Linked DNA regions of Homo sapiens: regions 1, 2, 3 and 4 are each linked to region 5. Evidence: promoter capture Hi-C in 16 types of primary human blood cells and fetal thymus (Javierre and others, 2016). All regions are on one chromosome and are shown on one strand. Each heading gives the region's core, a stretch centred on a gene start or on the middle of the fragment in contact. The rest is flanking DNA. Distances are from core to core; before and after follow the strand shown. Region 1 overlaps PEBP4 (phosphatidylethanolamine binding protein 4). Region 2 overlaps PEBP4 (phosphatidylethanolamine binding protein 4). Region 3 overlaps PEBP4 (phosphatidylethanolamine binding protein 4). Region 4 has its middle 8.5 kb from the start of PEBP4. Region 5 holds the start of PPP3CC (protein phosphatase 3 catalytic subunit gamma).

Region 1 (2,700 bases), core at 19-2,518, 450 kb before region 5:
AGGTCAGCGGGAGCAAAACTCAACCATTCCTGATTAATTAGTATTACCGTGGCCTATGTATTTCTCTAGTTCAGATCTTCATCAGATCACACTCCAGCTATGACAGTGATTGTCCAAGCTCCATTCCCTGTCTCTCCTCCCAGACTAGGACATCTTCTTCTTCTGGGTTCCCACATCATTCTAGGTTCCAGTGGCACTTTTCTTACTTGATGCAAGGATGTGGGATTTGGGAACATGGTTTCATCTCTCCAACCACAATACCAGCAACTTTCAGGCAACTGTCTGATGCCACACAGCAAATCTGCCCCAGGGCAGAGGGGGCAGTAGGTAGGCAGTAACTGGGAGCACAGGCAGAGAGGCTGGCATGAAGAAACCTGCCCATGGGAAGCAGGGCCAATGCCACCTAGGCTGGGTTCAAGGATGTGGCCAAAAAAGCAGAACTTCCGACAAACTTGGAAAACTAGTCAGGTTACTGAAACAGGAACTTAAGCTTCTCAGCAAATTAGACGTAACATATAAACTGGAAAAATCAGTGAACTTGAAGATAGAGCAACAGAAATGATCTAAAGAAATATAAAGAGAGAAAAGAAGGCTGGGGGACAGAACAGAGCACCCAAGCATTGTGAGACAACATAAAATGGTCTAACATATGTATAGTTGGGATCTCATTAAGAAAAGAGAGCAGAGTAGAACTATTTGAAGAGATAATGACCAAGAACTTGTTAAAGAAAGGCAACATACCACAAGTCCAAGATACTCAGAGAACCTTAATCAGAATTTTTAAAAAAATCCACCTAGATGTGTCATGATCAAACTGCTAAAAACCAAAGATAAATTCTGAAGACAACCAAGGAAAACAGAATGCCGGTGTCCCCCTCACCAAAGCATGTCTAAATGCTTGTGAAGAAAGTATGTTCTCCTGGGACAGAGTGAAGGAGGGTATGTGGGGAACACATGTGTAAGCCCACCCCAACATTATTATGCCTCTCCAGGTATTAAGATTCCTTGCTTTATATCAAGGAACTTCTGTCACCTTAGCTTTATTTAGTATAGGATGCCATTCAGTTCAGGTTTCATTTCAGATAACCCACTGAGTGAACAGAACCATACCCAGATGATCCAGCCAGTACTTTGGATCCAGAATCCATATTGATCAATATGGCCCAATTGAAAATGATCTTCTTTCCTCCGTGATCAGCACCTTACTATACATTTCTCAGATTTCTGCCAATAAATATTAAAAAACAAATGGCACCTACTTTGGTGTGAAAGTCTACTGTTTCAGAATCAGACTTTGTGCTTGTCTCCCTTGGCCATGCTGAAATCTGATTCTAGAATAGGTCAGGAGCAGCCAGGGGTGGTAAGTGTCGACCTCAGGGAGAATCAGGATTCTCTTGCAAGACAGGACCTGGGGAAAAGGGGCAGCTTCTGCTGGAAAGGGAGGCTCAGCAGGGTCTAAGACTCAGTTATATGAATTCAGCATCCCCATTCACAGGGTTCCATCTTTCCCAGTCAACACCATCTCCCATAAGAGACCTGATGAGGCTGTGAACTTAACTTAGGTTGTAATTCTACAACCTGCTGGGTCAGACTTCACTTCTGATTTCAGTTTTGTTGGCCCTGAAACTACAAACCGTGGGAGATTCTTTCAGGATAGTCTTAACTGTTCCTTGCTCTTCTGATTGAGCCTTGAGCCAAGAATTTATTACTATTTTATTTTATTTTTAGAGACAGGGTCTCACTCTGTTGCCCAAGCTGGAGTGCAGTGGCATGATTACGGTTCACTGCAGCCTTGACCTCCTGGAATCAAGCAATCTTCCCACCTCAGCCTCCTGAGTAGCTGGGACTACAGGCACATGCCACTATGCTTGGAATTTTTTTTATTTATTTTTTATTTTTTGTAGAGACAGGGTCTTACCATGTTGCCTGGGCTGGTCTCGAACTCCTGGGCTGAAGCCATCCATCTGCCTTGGCTTCCCAAAGTGCTGGGATTATAGAGTGAGCCACTATGCATGGCTGTGCCAAGAATTTAAACCTCAAGCTTCTAACCATTTTTCTTTACTTTTCCCACTTCTGGCAGAAGAAGTCATCTTATTCCAACATCTTTATATTCATCATTCTGACATAATAATCTATCGTGCAATTCCGCCAAACTCTTATCTTCAATGGGTACTTTGTTCTAGGTAATCACACTTGATAATCAAGATTATTTTGCTACTATATGCCGCGGGCTGCCAGTGACACATTTGCTAATGGTAACCTGTGCTCTCATCTTCACTGGTTTTAAGCAATTTGATTGTGATGTGTTTGGTGTAGTTTTCTCATGTGTCTTGTGCTTGGCATTTCTTTGGTTGGGCTTCTGGGATCTGTGGGTTTACAGTTTTCATCAAATTAAGACATTTTTCAGCCATTATGTCTTCTAATATTTTTTCTAATATTCCCTAAAAGGGAATTTTAGGGACTCCTATTGCATGTATATTTGGCTACTTGAAGATGTCCCACAGCTCACTGATATGCTATTCTGGTGGGTTTTTTTCAGTCTTTTTTCTCTCTGTGTTTTATTTTGAATAGTTTCTATTGCTGTGTCTTCAAGTTCACTAATATCTTATTCTGTATAGTTAACCTTCTGTTAAATCTCATCCAGTGTACTCTTCATCACAGACAATGAAATTGTTATCTCTTCAAATCTGAATTGGGTCT
Region 2 (2,700 bases), core at 151-2,650, 310 kb before region 5:
AAGGAGGCGCCAGCTGTTCAGCTCCTGCCTGAGTCTTGCCACCTTGTCTCCAGACCATCCCACGCTAGCCTCGCAAGGCTGTCGCTCTGGCCTGAGCACAGAAGATGCTCAGACAAGGAGTTAAATATGGGTCTCAGCTCAGGGCAGCTCAGTAGCCAACTTCCCCGCTGAATCTATTATGATACATCATTATAATGATTATTATCAATAAGTATTTAGCGAGCACCTTTAGTTGTGTCCCCGTTGGAGGCATTGCAGGAGCTTCAAAGATGAATAAGATGCAGATGTACGGCAGCAGCAGGAGCTTGGGATTGCAATGCTTTTCCTCCAGAGGGGAGAGCGTGTTCAGAGAGAGGGACTCTAAGCAAGTGGCTCCGTTTTCTGAGTGAGGTCAGATTGAAACCCTGTGCAAAGGTTGGCACAGCCAGCCTCAACCCCAGATGCCCAGGATAGGGCGGGATTCTTGAGGCCAGTTTGCTTGCTGATGTACTTACCCACTGCACATGGCTGAAAAAAAAGAACAATAAATGTCTAACATTATCAGTAATGGATGGTGATGATGATGACAAAAATGATGTTAGAAAAGAGTATACAATTTTGCCCCAGCACGGTGGCTCACGCCTGTAATCCCACCACTTTGGGAGGCCAAGGTGGATGGATTACTTGAGGTCAGGAGCTTGAGACCAGACTGGCCAACATGGTAGAACCCCATCTCTACTAAAAATACAAAAATTAGCTGAGTGTGGTGGCGGGCACCTGTAATCCCAGCTACTCAGGAGGCTGAGGCAGGAGAAACGCTTGAACCCGGAAAGCAGAGGTTGCAATGAGCCGAGATCACGCCACTGCGCGGCAGCCTGGGTGACAGAGCATGACTCCGTCTCAAAAAAAAAAAAAAAAAAAAAAAAAAAGAGGGAGAGAAATGAGTATACGATTTTGGCCCAAAGCCCTGGGAACTTCAGCTCTTCCTTCCTGCCTATTGGCATTTCTGTTACACTCCGCTAGATAATAGAAAGCCAGGAGCAGAAGCTTGAGAAACATTTAAGAATCACTCAAGCAGATCTTTGGACTCCAGGCAAGACTCAACTAAATCATCCAAGAAGAGTCACCGTTATAGCAGCAGGTGAACTCAGGAGTGGTTTCGAAACCCGGGAGTGGAATAATGGCCTCTTGGGCCCTTCCCCACTTTCCCACACCTAAGTTAAGGGAAAGCCCCAGCCCAGGCTCTCAGGAGACAGTAATAACCACCAAGGGCCATATTCCCTCCTCATTAGCCTACCAGATTCACAGTAGTTAAGAGCCGGAAGGAGTCTCAGTCCAGCCCTCCCATTCTATAGATGAGAACACTGAGGCCCAAAGAGGAGAACTGACTCACCCAGGGCCACACAGCAGAGATGGGTCTCAAACTCCCACATCCTTTCATTGCACTGTGAAAACCAGAGAGAGGTGAGGGAGGGGAGAGATGTGGGGAAATTATCCACCTCCTGAGCCTGCAGAGGTCTGTGTGATCCATACTCCCTGCCTAGCTGGCTCAATATCAGGCAGATGACAGCTTCATGTGGAGGGAGACCAACCGCCCCAAGGAGGCCACACAAATGGCCATGAAGCCAAGTCAGGGTGTGCAGTTTCTAGAATGAGCCTTTCCTCTCTGCTTTGCTCCCTGAAAAGAGCAAAAGGCTCTCTCACTTCCAGGCCTGCTGGCAAATTTCTGATGAGAAATCTACTCCAGCTTCTAACTCCCAAAGATCTCCCAGGCATCTACTTGGGATAAGCTTTCCTAGCAATTTTTAAAGCCAATTAGAGAAAAATTAAGGAATTAAATAGAAAAATTTGTGTTGGTTAAGGTCATAAAATCATTCATTCACTCAACACACGTCTACAGAGTGAGGATTCAGTCACAGAGACAAGGTCTCTGATCTTAATACACCCGCAGTCCAGTAGGTAAGGTAGAAAAATGAGCAGTTATCCCAGGGACTTTCACAACTACGATGTAAGATACTGGAAGCACCAGGAGGGAGCACCCTGTGGGTGGGGCGGCCAGGGGTCTAGGGCAGCTTCCCAGAGGAACAGACATCAGACCCTGGGGCTTGGAGAGCCGCTGAAAGCCCAGAGCCCATCCTGAGAAAGATAAAATTTGATCTGTTTGCTTCCATTTTCCACTTTCTCTTCAACCCTCCTCTCCCTCCATCTGAACATACCCCATCAGCAACCCTCGTTCCTGCTCTATAGTCAGACTTTCCCATCTTCTTCCCCATTTGGGACCCTCAGCCCACACCCTCAGCCCACACCCTATCAAACATGTAGAATCAGCAGAGGTTGTGGGGAGGGGCCCCACTCACACCCAGACAGATGTGCTCTGTTCCCCGCACAGCTGTCCAGGCGGTAGCCCATCTGCGCTCACTTCCTGCCTCCCAGCTCCAGCCCCTCACACCTCCCACACAAGGGCGGGGAAGTCTGGTCCTGAGATTCATCCCAAAGCCAATGTTGAGGCGGCCACCAGCCCGGCAAAGCCCCAGACCCTGGCTCCCACCTTCCCCTCTCCTCCACAAGGAGTGGTGGACCAGGAAGGGCTTCAGCAAGGTGGAGACTTTGCCTAAGCCACTCTGGAGGACTCTGCCTTGAAGTTCAGCTTCAGTCTCTTGGCAGTTGTGGGAGCTGCCTAGCTCTGAAGTTCTCCCAGCATCATGTGTCCACATGAAACAC
Region 3 (2,700 bases), core at 147-2,646, 470 kb before region 5:
CATTGGCACCGACTTCTGCACAGAAACCCATAGAGTTTGAGGAGGCTGTAGCATCCAGAGGTAGCTGCCCGAGAGGCAGGTCTGCCATCTGACTCCAGAAGAGAAGGCAGGGCTGGGCACCTGGGTCTGCATCCTCAGTGTTCCAGCAGGCGTGGACTCTGAGAGGAGGACAGGTTTACCTGCGGGTAGGCTCTGCTATGCTCAACAGCAGCCAGCCAGAGAGGTTGGGTGAGGCCACAGGAAACGCACGCACTGCCTTACCCCAGCAAGCCACTGGTTACCCGTGTGAGGGGACCAAGGAGTGAATGAGGAGTGGATCCCATGGAGTAGGCTACTCACACCACCGCTTTGCCAGGGGAGAAGAGATGCCTGCGAATGTTTAAGTGCTGGCAGGGGCTGGGCACAGTATGTGTTCAGTAATATTTACGAAGTGGGTCACATCTCTAATCCCAGCACTTTGGGAGCCCAAGACAGGAGGATTTGCTTGAGGTCAGGAGTTAGAGACCCCATCTCTACAAAAAAATGAAGTTAACCAGGCCTTATGGTGGTTGATGCCTGTAATCCCAGCACTTTGGGAGGCTGAGGTGGGCAGATCACTTGAAGTCAGGAGATCAGCCTGGCAAACATGGTGAAACCCCATTTCTACTAAAAATACAAAACTTAGCTGGGTGTGGTGGCACATGCCTGTAATCCCAGGTACTTGGGAGGCTGAGATAGGAGAATCACTTGAACCCAGGAGGCAGAGGTTGCAGTGAGCCTAGATCGCGCCACTATACTCCAGCCTGGGCAACAGAGCAAGACTCTGTCTCAAAAAAAAAAAAAAAAAAAAGTAGCCAGGCCTGGTAGTTCACACCTGTAGTCCTAGGTACTGGGGAGGCTAAGGTGGGAAAATCACTTGAACCCAGGAGTTCAAGGCTGCAATAGGCTAAGGAGCTATGATTGTGCCACTGCACTTCAGCCTGGGCAACAGAGCAAGACCCCAACTCTAAATAAATAAGTAAATTCTGGCAGGAAGGAGCCAATAAAAGGGCAGTGTCAAAATACAGCAGAAGGAGGGGTTGAGGGGTCGACTGGAAATGCTCATTCCAAGGTGATAAACGGTGTGAATGGTGGGAGTTAGGAGGATATTTCAAAGGGTGTCCAGCTCCTTTGGAGCCAATGGGACCTGGCCACTGACTGGAAGTCAGGGGTGGGAGGTGCCGGAGATGCTTCTGAGGGAAGAGGAGGAGGAAGGGGATAGTGGGCAGGAGGGGTGCAGGTGTGGCCGCAGGGGCTGGAGGGGGCTGCCCTATGCTGGCCCTGGGAGCTGGAGCTCAGCCAGCCAAGCCCCTACTGCAGGGGGAAGAGGCAATGTCATGAAATTGCAGGGTGGAAGGACTTTGGGGCAGAGCGTGGGGAATGATGATGTCACGGACATTGCAGAAGAAGTAAAGGTGCACAGAGGAGGGAGGTGCAGGGAAGAGGCAGGAATGGGGAGCAGGAGTCACCAGGCTCCACTGCTGGGAGAGGCTGCATGGGGCCAGGCTGGGGAAGAGCCACTGGATCTGGATCGTTCCAGGACTGCGGGCTGGGAGCAGAAGGTAAAGTCAGGACAGGGTAAGGGGCCACCCTGGGGAGATCACCAGTGCATCAGGTGAGGGTTTAGGGAAGAATTCATGAGATGCCACTGTATTTGGTGCCGAGCACCTAACTGGAGTTTCATGGATGGGATCAGTTGTCACTACAATAGAAAGAGATGGATTTGTAGTCTGAAGGACAGAAGACACAAAAGAAGAGTTGGACTTTCCAAGGTTCCAGGAGAACTGTGTGTGTTTGAGGCCCAGAGGCAGAGGGGACAGGAGGCCGCTGAGCTTGTAAATGAAGGGCTCAGGTGCTAACAGGCGGAGCCAGGTGTGGGAAGGCAGGTGAGGAGGGCGCGCAGCACCCAGGCAAGGACGAATCAGGTCATTTTATCCTTTGTCCCTGGCTCCTTCAGTGCAAGTAGTCAAAGTGCTAACATCACTCAGCTGTGTCCCACTCTAGCCCAGGTCCCCAGCCAGGTCATCCGGGGCTCCTCTGGGTGCAACTGGACTGGGTGAAAGGGGAGTGAGGATTGTCAGCATTTCTAACCTTTGCAGTTAGATGTTCAGGTTGCAAAGACACTTCCTATGCAGGACTTCACAGGACAGATCCTCCTAGCAACATGGGGCGATGGATAGAGCGGGGATTATCCCCTTGATGACAGATGAGGGCGCTGCCCAGGGTCACACTTGCCAAACCTGGGAAGTGGGAGAACCAGCCCCGGATGGCAGCTTCCCTGGCTTGCAGTCAACTACCTTTCACCTATGTAATTTTGCCTCCGGAATCCCCCGGTTCCTGAAAACAGGCCTGTAATGTTGACAGTGGAGAGGGGGTGTCATTCAGTCATTCATGTATTCACTGGAGCAGATCCGGATGGAGCTCCACTCTCTGCCCCTCTGCCAGGTACTGTTCCGGTAGTGAGGGATACACACAGAACGCACCCCTGCCCTGCCTGTGATGGGCATCTTGCAATAGTGAGAATGTCCATTGTTGTTGTTATCACTTGTCTGTTAAACACTTAATGGCTGAGGGGAAACCTTAACAGAACGGCCACGTGCTCCGGCGACTGTCTTACTCAGGGTGGCTCCATTAGGAGGATTCCCAGTCTTAATCTTCACTCCCAGGGCTCCTTATCCTCGT
Region 4 (2,700 bases), core at 91-2,590, 500 kb before region 5:
GTTTATTTCTGGGCTCTCTAGTCTATTCCGTTGGCCTATTTATCTGTCTTTATGCCAGTACCAAACTATTTGGATTACTGTAGCTTTGTAGTAAGTTTTGTAATCAGAAAGTACGAGTCCTTCAACTATGTTTTCTTTTCAAGACTGTTTTGACTATTTGGGGTCCCACAAGATTATATATAAATTTTAGGATGGGTTTTTCTATTTCTGTAAAAAAAAATTGACATTTTCATAGGAGTTGCAATTAATCTGTAGGTCACTTTGAGTAACTTTGTCATTTTAACAATATTAAGTCTTCCACTCCATGAGCATTGAATGTCTTTACATTTATCTCTTCTTTAATTTATTTTAGCAAAATTTTGTAGTTTCAGTGTGCAAGTCTTTCACCTCCTTGGTTAAGTTTATTCCTAGTTTATTCTGCTTTATGTAATCATAAACAGAGTTGTTTTCCTAATTTCCTATTTGAATTCTTCGTTTTTAGAGCAAAGAAATGCATTTGATTTTTGTTTGTTGATTTTGTAAATTACAACTTTACTGAATTTGCTTATTAGCTCTAACAGTTTTTCTTTTTTAAAAAATTAGAGTTTTCTATATGTAAGATTGTCATCTGCAAACAGATAATTGTACTTCTTCCTTTCTAATTTGGATGCCTTTTATTTCTTTTCTTGCATAATTGCTCTGGCTAGAACTTTCTATATATGTTGAATAAGAGTGGCAAATGCATACATCCTTGTTTTGTTCCTGATCTTAGAGGAAAACTTGAAGTCTGTCACCATTGAGTATGTTGTTATCTGTGGGCTTTTTGTATATGGCCTTTATCATATCGAGGAAGCTTCTTTCCCTTCCTAGTTTGTTTTTATCATGGAAGTGTGTTGAGTTTTGTCAAATGCTTTTTTTGCATCAATTGAGATGACCATGTAGTATTTTTCCTTCATTCTATTAATGTGGCGGTATTATGTTGATTGGTTTTTATATGTTGAATCATGCTTGCATTCCAGAAATAAATCTCACTTGGTTATGCTGTATAATCCTATCGGTGTACTGTTGAATTATCTATGCTAATATTTTGTTGGGGACTTTTGCATCAGAGTTTCTAAGGGATATTGCTTTGTGGTTTTCTTTTCTAACTTTGGTTAGAAAATTGGCTTTGGTATCATAGTAACGCTGGCTTCACAGAGTGAGTCAGGGAGTATTCTCTCCAATGTTTTGGAAGAGTTTGAGAAGGATGAGTGTTCATTCTTCTTTAAATGTTTGGTAGAAATCACCAGTAAAACTATCTGGTTCAGAACTTTTCTTCACTGGGGCATTTTTGATTACTGCTTCAATCTTCTTACTAGTTGTGGATCTATTCAGGCTTTCCATCTCTTTATGATTCAGTCTTGGTAGGTTTTATGTTTCCAGGAATTTGTCCATTTCATCTGGGTTATCAAATTTATTACATAACCAACAACCTTACCCATTGTTTATATTAATCTCTTATCACCCTTTTTATTTCTGTAAAATATTATTTATATTTTTATTTTTATAAATTTTAGAGTAATCTCCTCACTTCATTTCTTATTTTAGTAATTTGAGTCTTCTCTGTTTTTTAATTAATCTGGCTGATAGTGTCAATTTTACTGATGTTTTTCAAAGAACCAACTTTTGGTTTTGTTGATTTTCTGTTTTTCTGTTCTCTATTTTATGTCTGTTGCAATCTTTAGTATTTCTTTCTTTCTGCTAGCTTTGGGTTATCTTGTTCTTTTTTTTTTTTTTCCCTAGCTCCTTAAGGTGTAAATTTAGGTTGTTGATTTGAGATCCTCCTTCTTTTTTAATATAAGCATTTACAACTTCTCAATGTAAGCTTTTATAGCTATTTTACAGCATGTACAGCTTTCACTGCATCCCATACATCTTGGTATACCAGTTGTTTCCCTTATCGAAAACACTTGGGACAAGAAGTATTTCAAATTTCAAATTTTTCAGATTTTAGAATATTTGCATATATGAGATATTTTGGAGATGGGACCTAAGTCTAAACATGAAATTTATTTATGTTTATATATACCTTATACACAGCCTAAAGATAGTTTTATACAATATTATTAATAATGTTGTGCATAAAACAAAGTTTTGACTGTGACCCATCACATGAGGTCAGGTGTAGGATTTTTTCACTTGTAGTATTCCATAGGCCTTCAAAGTTTTAAATCTTGAAGCATTTCAGAATTCCAATTTTTGGCTTAGGGATGTATTGTGTTTTTTGTTTTTGAGACAGTCTCACTCTGCTGCCCAGGCTGGACTGCAGTGGAGCGATCTCAGCTCACTGCAACCTCTGCCTCCTGGGTTCAAGCAATTCTCCTGCCTCAGCCTCCCAAGTAGCTGGGATGGGACTACAGGTGCCTGCCACCATGCCCAGCTAATTTTTGTATTTTTAGTAGAGACATGGTTTCTCCATGTTGGCCAGGCTGGTCTTGAACTCCTGACCTCAAGTGATCCACCCACCTCGGCTTCCCAAAGTGCTGGGATGACAGGTGTGAGCCACCATGCCCAGCCAGTCTCCCATTTCTTTAATTGGTCTTCTGCCTAGTTGTTCTATTCACTATTAAAAGTGGAGTACTGAAATTTCCAATTACTGTTGTTAAGCTACCTATTTTTCCCTTCAATTCTATCCTTGTATGCTTATATATTTTGGATCCCTGATGTTTGGTGCATATAGGT
Region 5 (2,700 bases), core at 187-2,686:
ACCTAAGTTATACACTAAAATTCTTCCCCCTCCCTGAACATGCAATAAGGCGTTTCACCTTTTAAAAATGTATTCCCGTCACTAGTATTAGTTGCCTTTCTCCTTCTAATACCAAAATGAAAAAGAAGAAAAGTATCTTAATAATTTTCCCCACTGTCACGCTAACCCCTGCATCCAGAGGCCACTAACACAGCTGGTCTAAGTCTATTCCCTTCTTACAAAATAGCGCTTTCAAACCGATTGTTAATCTCAGAGAGAAGGGTTGTGCCTAAGACTTACGGCTGAATAAAAGCAGCACATAAATTAGTGGTTATGTGTAATCCATCTTCTTAGTTTAAAGGGAGAAACAACTATAACCTAAAACTCTACAAGATTTAGAGAGCAAAGAGCCCTTTACATTTTGTTCTTATAACAACAACAGAAATCTAACGCAGGTACACATATGAATCAGAAAACGTCATTCTCCAAGTCTTTATAACCAAAGGGAAAATAAAATACCATTACCCTGTCAAGAGCTCCGTAAACTTATTTTAAACATCATATAATGGATTTATCTGACTTGTTCATACTAAGTTTATTCCAGTAATAGCAGTGACTTGCAATGATCTAGAGAAAGCGGGTCAAAAGGCACATGGTATACGTCCTAAAAAAGGGTGGGGGGCGGACGTCAAGAAAGATCTAATCTTAAATATCTTACTTGGAAGAGTCGACTCCCTGCTCACACCACCCCCGATGGCTTCCCCCGAGTCGTTTCTTAAAGAGAAAAAAAGACAGGGATCCGGGCCCTTCGGGGCGGTGGGAGAAGAAGTCCCCACTGCACCCTGAACCCTTCGGGAGGGAACTTGGCACTGACGGCCAGGCACCTGACCAGGTGCAGCAGAAAACGCCGGGTCCGGGTGGCTGCTCTCGGAGGCTGCCGCCCGGCTCTGTCTACACCCCTCCGAGCCCTCCTAGGGTGGGCGCAGCCCGGCCCCAGCCTCCCTCCGCCCCGAGCCGCCGCCCAGCCGAAGGCCGTTTCCCGCGGGTCCCAGAGGAAGGCCCGGCCCGCCAGGCACCTTTGATGACGCGGTCGGTGGTGGAGAGGTGGAAGCGCCTCCCGGACATGGTCCCCTCGGCCTCCTCCAGGCTCCAGGAGCCCGCCGGACGTGCGCCTACGCCGCGGCCGCCGCCTTCTCCTCGGGCAGCCTTAGCTGCCCGGAGCCGTCAGCCAGCCGTGCCCGGCCCCGGCTCCTCAGCGGTGTCCGAGCACCAGAAGGGCGCGGCCACCGCAGCGCCGGCCTCCGACGCCACTGACAGGACGAGGGCCCACCGGCCGCTCTCTTGGGAGGCGCCAGCGGCTAAGGCGGGGAACACCGCTTCGGCACCGACCGCGACCGCTGCTAAGGGTGGCGACCGGGACGGCCGCGGCTGCTCGCGGCCCGGGCCCTCGTGCACGCAAGCGCGCCCCCGAGCGCCGCTCTCACAACTTCCCAGCGGCCCCGCTGTCCTAGCGGACCCGGCCGGGCCTCCCGCCCCGAGCGCCGCCCTCCCCACCCTTCCGCCTTCCCGCGAGGCAGTAGAGCTCGGCGCACGCGCTGCTCTCGGCTCCTCCGGCTCCGGGTCCCTGCTGCTAACCGCCCATTTTCGCTTCTTCTCAGCCAGCCCTCCCCGCAGCCGGCCCCTTCTCTCCTGCCAGCCCCTACCCGGGCCCGGAACATCTGAAACCCGCCCGCGTGGCCCGCGCGACCCGCGCGGGAGGCCGGCCCGGCCATCTTGCGACCCGGCCCTGCGGCCTCGCAGCGGCTCCGCGCCGCCTCCTGGGACCGCCTCGCCGAGAACCCCTGGCCTCCCAGTCCTCGCCCACAGGCGACCACCCTCCTCACCTCTGGGTCTCCCACCCGCTTTGTCTCAAGGAGTGTGATCAGTCCGGCCGCGCTCCTTCAGTTTTTGTGGGTCATTCAACAAACGCACACATTTAAACCCCCTCGCTTCATCTTTCCCGCTTGTTGAGTGCAGTTAGTACAATGAGAAGGACATTCGTGTCCATCCTAGTTCCAGTCCAGTAGCTAGGGCGGTGGGGGATTGGGGGAGCTCCGTTTCTGAGCAAGGCTCTGCTCCCTCCTCACTTTCCACATCGAAGAGAAGGGAGATCTCTGCTCCTGGGACCCCCGGGCCGGACCTCCTCGGCCACAAGAACTGACCTCTTCCTATGCCCTGTGTGTCACCTGCCCAGCTAGAAGCCCCTTTTTTCTTCCCCCTGACACAGTACCTGCCTCCCCGGCCCAGGCTCACTGTGGAACCCCATGGGCAAGTCCGTAGAAACTTAACAGTCTGTTCATCTCGAGGTTAAAAACTAACCTTTATCTGTCCTTAAAACTGTAAGCCTAGAACAGAAACTGGCTCCAACTGTCCTCTCACTGAGTAACTGGCAAAGTCAAAAGGATTTTGACTTTTAGCAATGCAAATGAAATATTGAAACTGATGTCCAATAAAACATATGCAAGTTACAGGCAAAACCAGTCTTAACAATTACCGCAGTGACCGATAAGTAGTTGTAGCTATGTAAATTTAAATTAATCCCGTTCCTCTAGGGGACTAGCCACATTTCAAGTGTTCAAGAGCTACACGCGGCTACCTTATTGGACATCCAGAAAATTCTACTGGACAGCTGTTAGGTAAAAGATTATAGGATTAAGCGTAAATCTCCAATAATATGGATTT

What was found. Contacts are between HindIII fragments. The CHiCAGO score rates a contact against its expected background, and 5 or more counts as called.
Region 1: a fragment that was not itself captured here is called in contact with the fragment with the promoter of PPP3CC in region 5 in 2 of 17 cell types (M2 macrophages and endothelial precursors); the score reaches 7.1 in M2 macrophages.
Region 2: a fragment that was not itself captured here is called in contact with the fragment with the promoter of PPP3CC in region 5 in 6 of 17 cell types (non-activated CD4 T cells, naive B cells, naive CD4 T cells and 3 more); the score reaches 6.9 in non-activated CD4 T cells.
Region 3: a contact is called between a fragment that was not itself captured here and the fragment with the promoter of PPP3CC in region 5, in 11 of 17 cell types (naive CD8 T cells, activated CD4 T cells, total CD8 T cells and 8 more). The highest score is 13.1, in naive CD8 T cells.
Region 4: a contact is called between a fragment that was not itself captured here and the fragment with the promoter of PPP3CC in region 5, in 3 of 17 cell types (endothelial precursors, M1 macrophages and naive CD4 T cells). The highest score is 8.5, in endothelial precursors.

What each region holds. Positions count from the first base shown.
Region 1 is chr8:22,893,609-22,896,308 of GRCh38, reverse strand. All of the region lies in intron 3 of PEBP4 (phosphatidylethanolamine binding protein 4), which reads left to right. It overlaps LOC124901907 (a long non-coding RNA gene), which reads left to right. Exons shown (of 2, transcript XR_007060854.1): 2 at 1-1,258. Among named protein-coding and RNA genes, the nearest start is that of PEBP4-AS1, 17 kb to the right of the region's middle. The HindIII fragment of the contact is 1,551 bases long and covers 493-2,043 here.
Region 2 is chr8:22,753,535-22,756,234 of GRCh38, reverse strand. The region is part of intron 4 of PEBP4 (phosphatidylethanolamine binding protein 4); the gene reads left to right. LOC107986925 (a long non-coding RNA gene) reads right to left here. Exons shown (of 3, transcript XR_007060852.1): 1 at 1,373-2,700; 2 at 227-507. Among named protein-coding and RNA genes, the nearest start is that of EGR3, 61 kb to the right of the region's middle. RefSeq lists an enhancer at 1,063-1,172. The HindIII fragment of the contact is 743 bases long and covers 1,029-1,771 here.
Region 3 is chr8:22,912,115-22,914,814 of GRCh38, reverse strand. The region is part of intron 3 of PEBP4 (phosphatidylethanolamine binding protein 4); the gene reads left to right. Among named protein-coding and RNA genes, the nearest start is that of PEBP4, 14 kb to the left of the region's middle. RefSeq lists enhancers at 1,648-2,419, 2,420-2,700. The HindIII fragment of the contact is 5,686 bases long and covers 1-2,700 here.
Region 4 is chr8:22,935,074-22,937,773 of GRCh38, reverse strand. It overlaps a transcript of PEBP4 not described here. Among named protein-coding and RNA genes, the nearest start is that of PEBP4, 8.5 kb to the right of the region's middle. The HindIII fragment of the contact is 1,011 bases long and covers 835-1,845 here.
Region 5 is chr8:22,439,814-22,442,513 of GRCh38, reverse strand. It overlaps PPP3CC (protein phosphatase 3 catalytic subunit gamma), which reads right to left and starts at 1,436. Exons shown (of 14, transcript NM_005605.5): 1 at 1,056-1,436. The coding sequence starts at 1,104. RefSeq lists silencers at 914-1,573, 1,664-1,853. The HindIII fragment of the contact is 13,070 bases long and covers 1-2,700 here.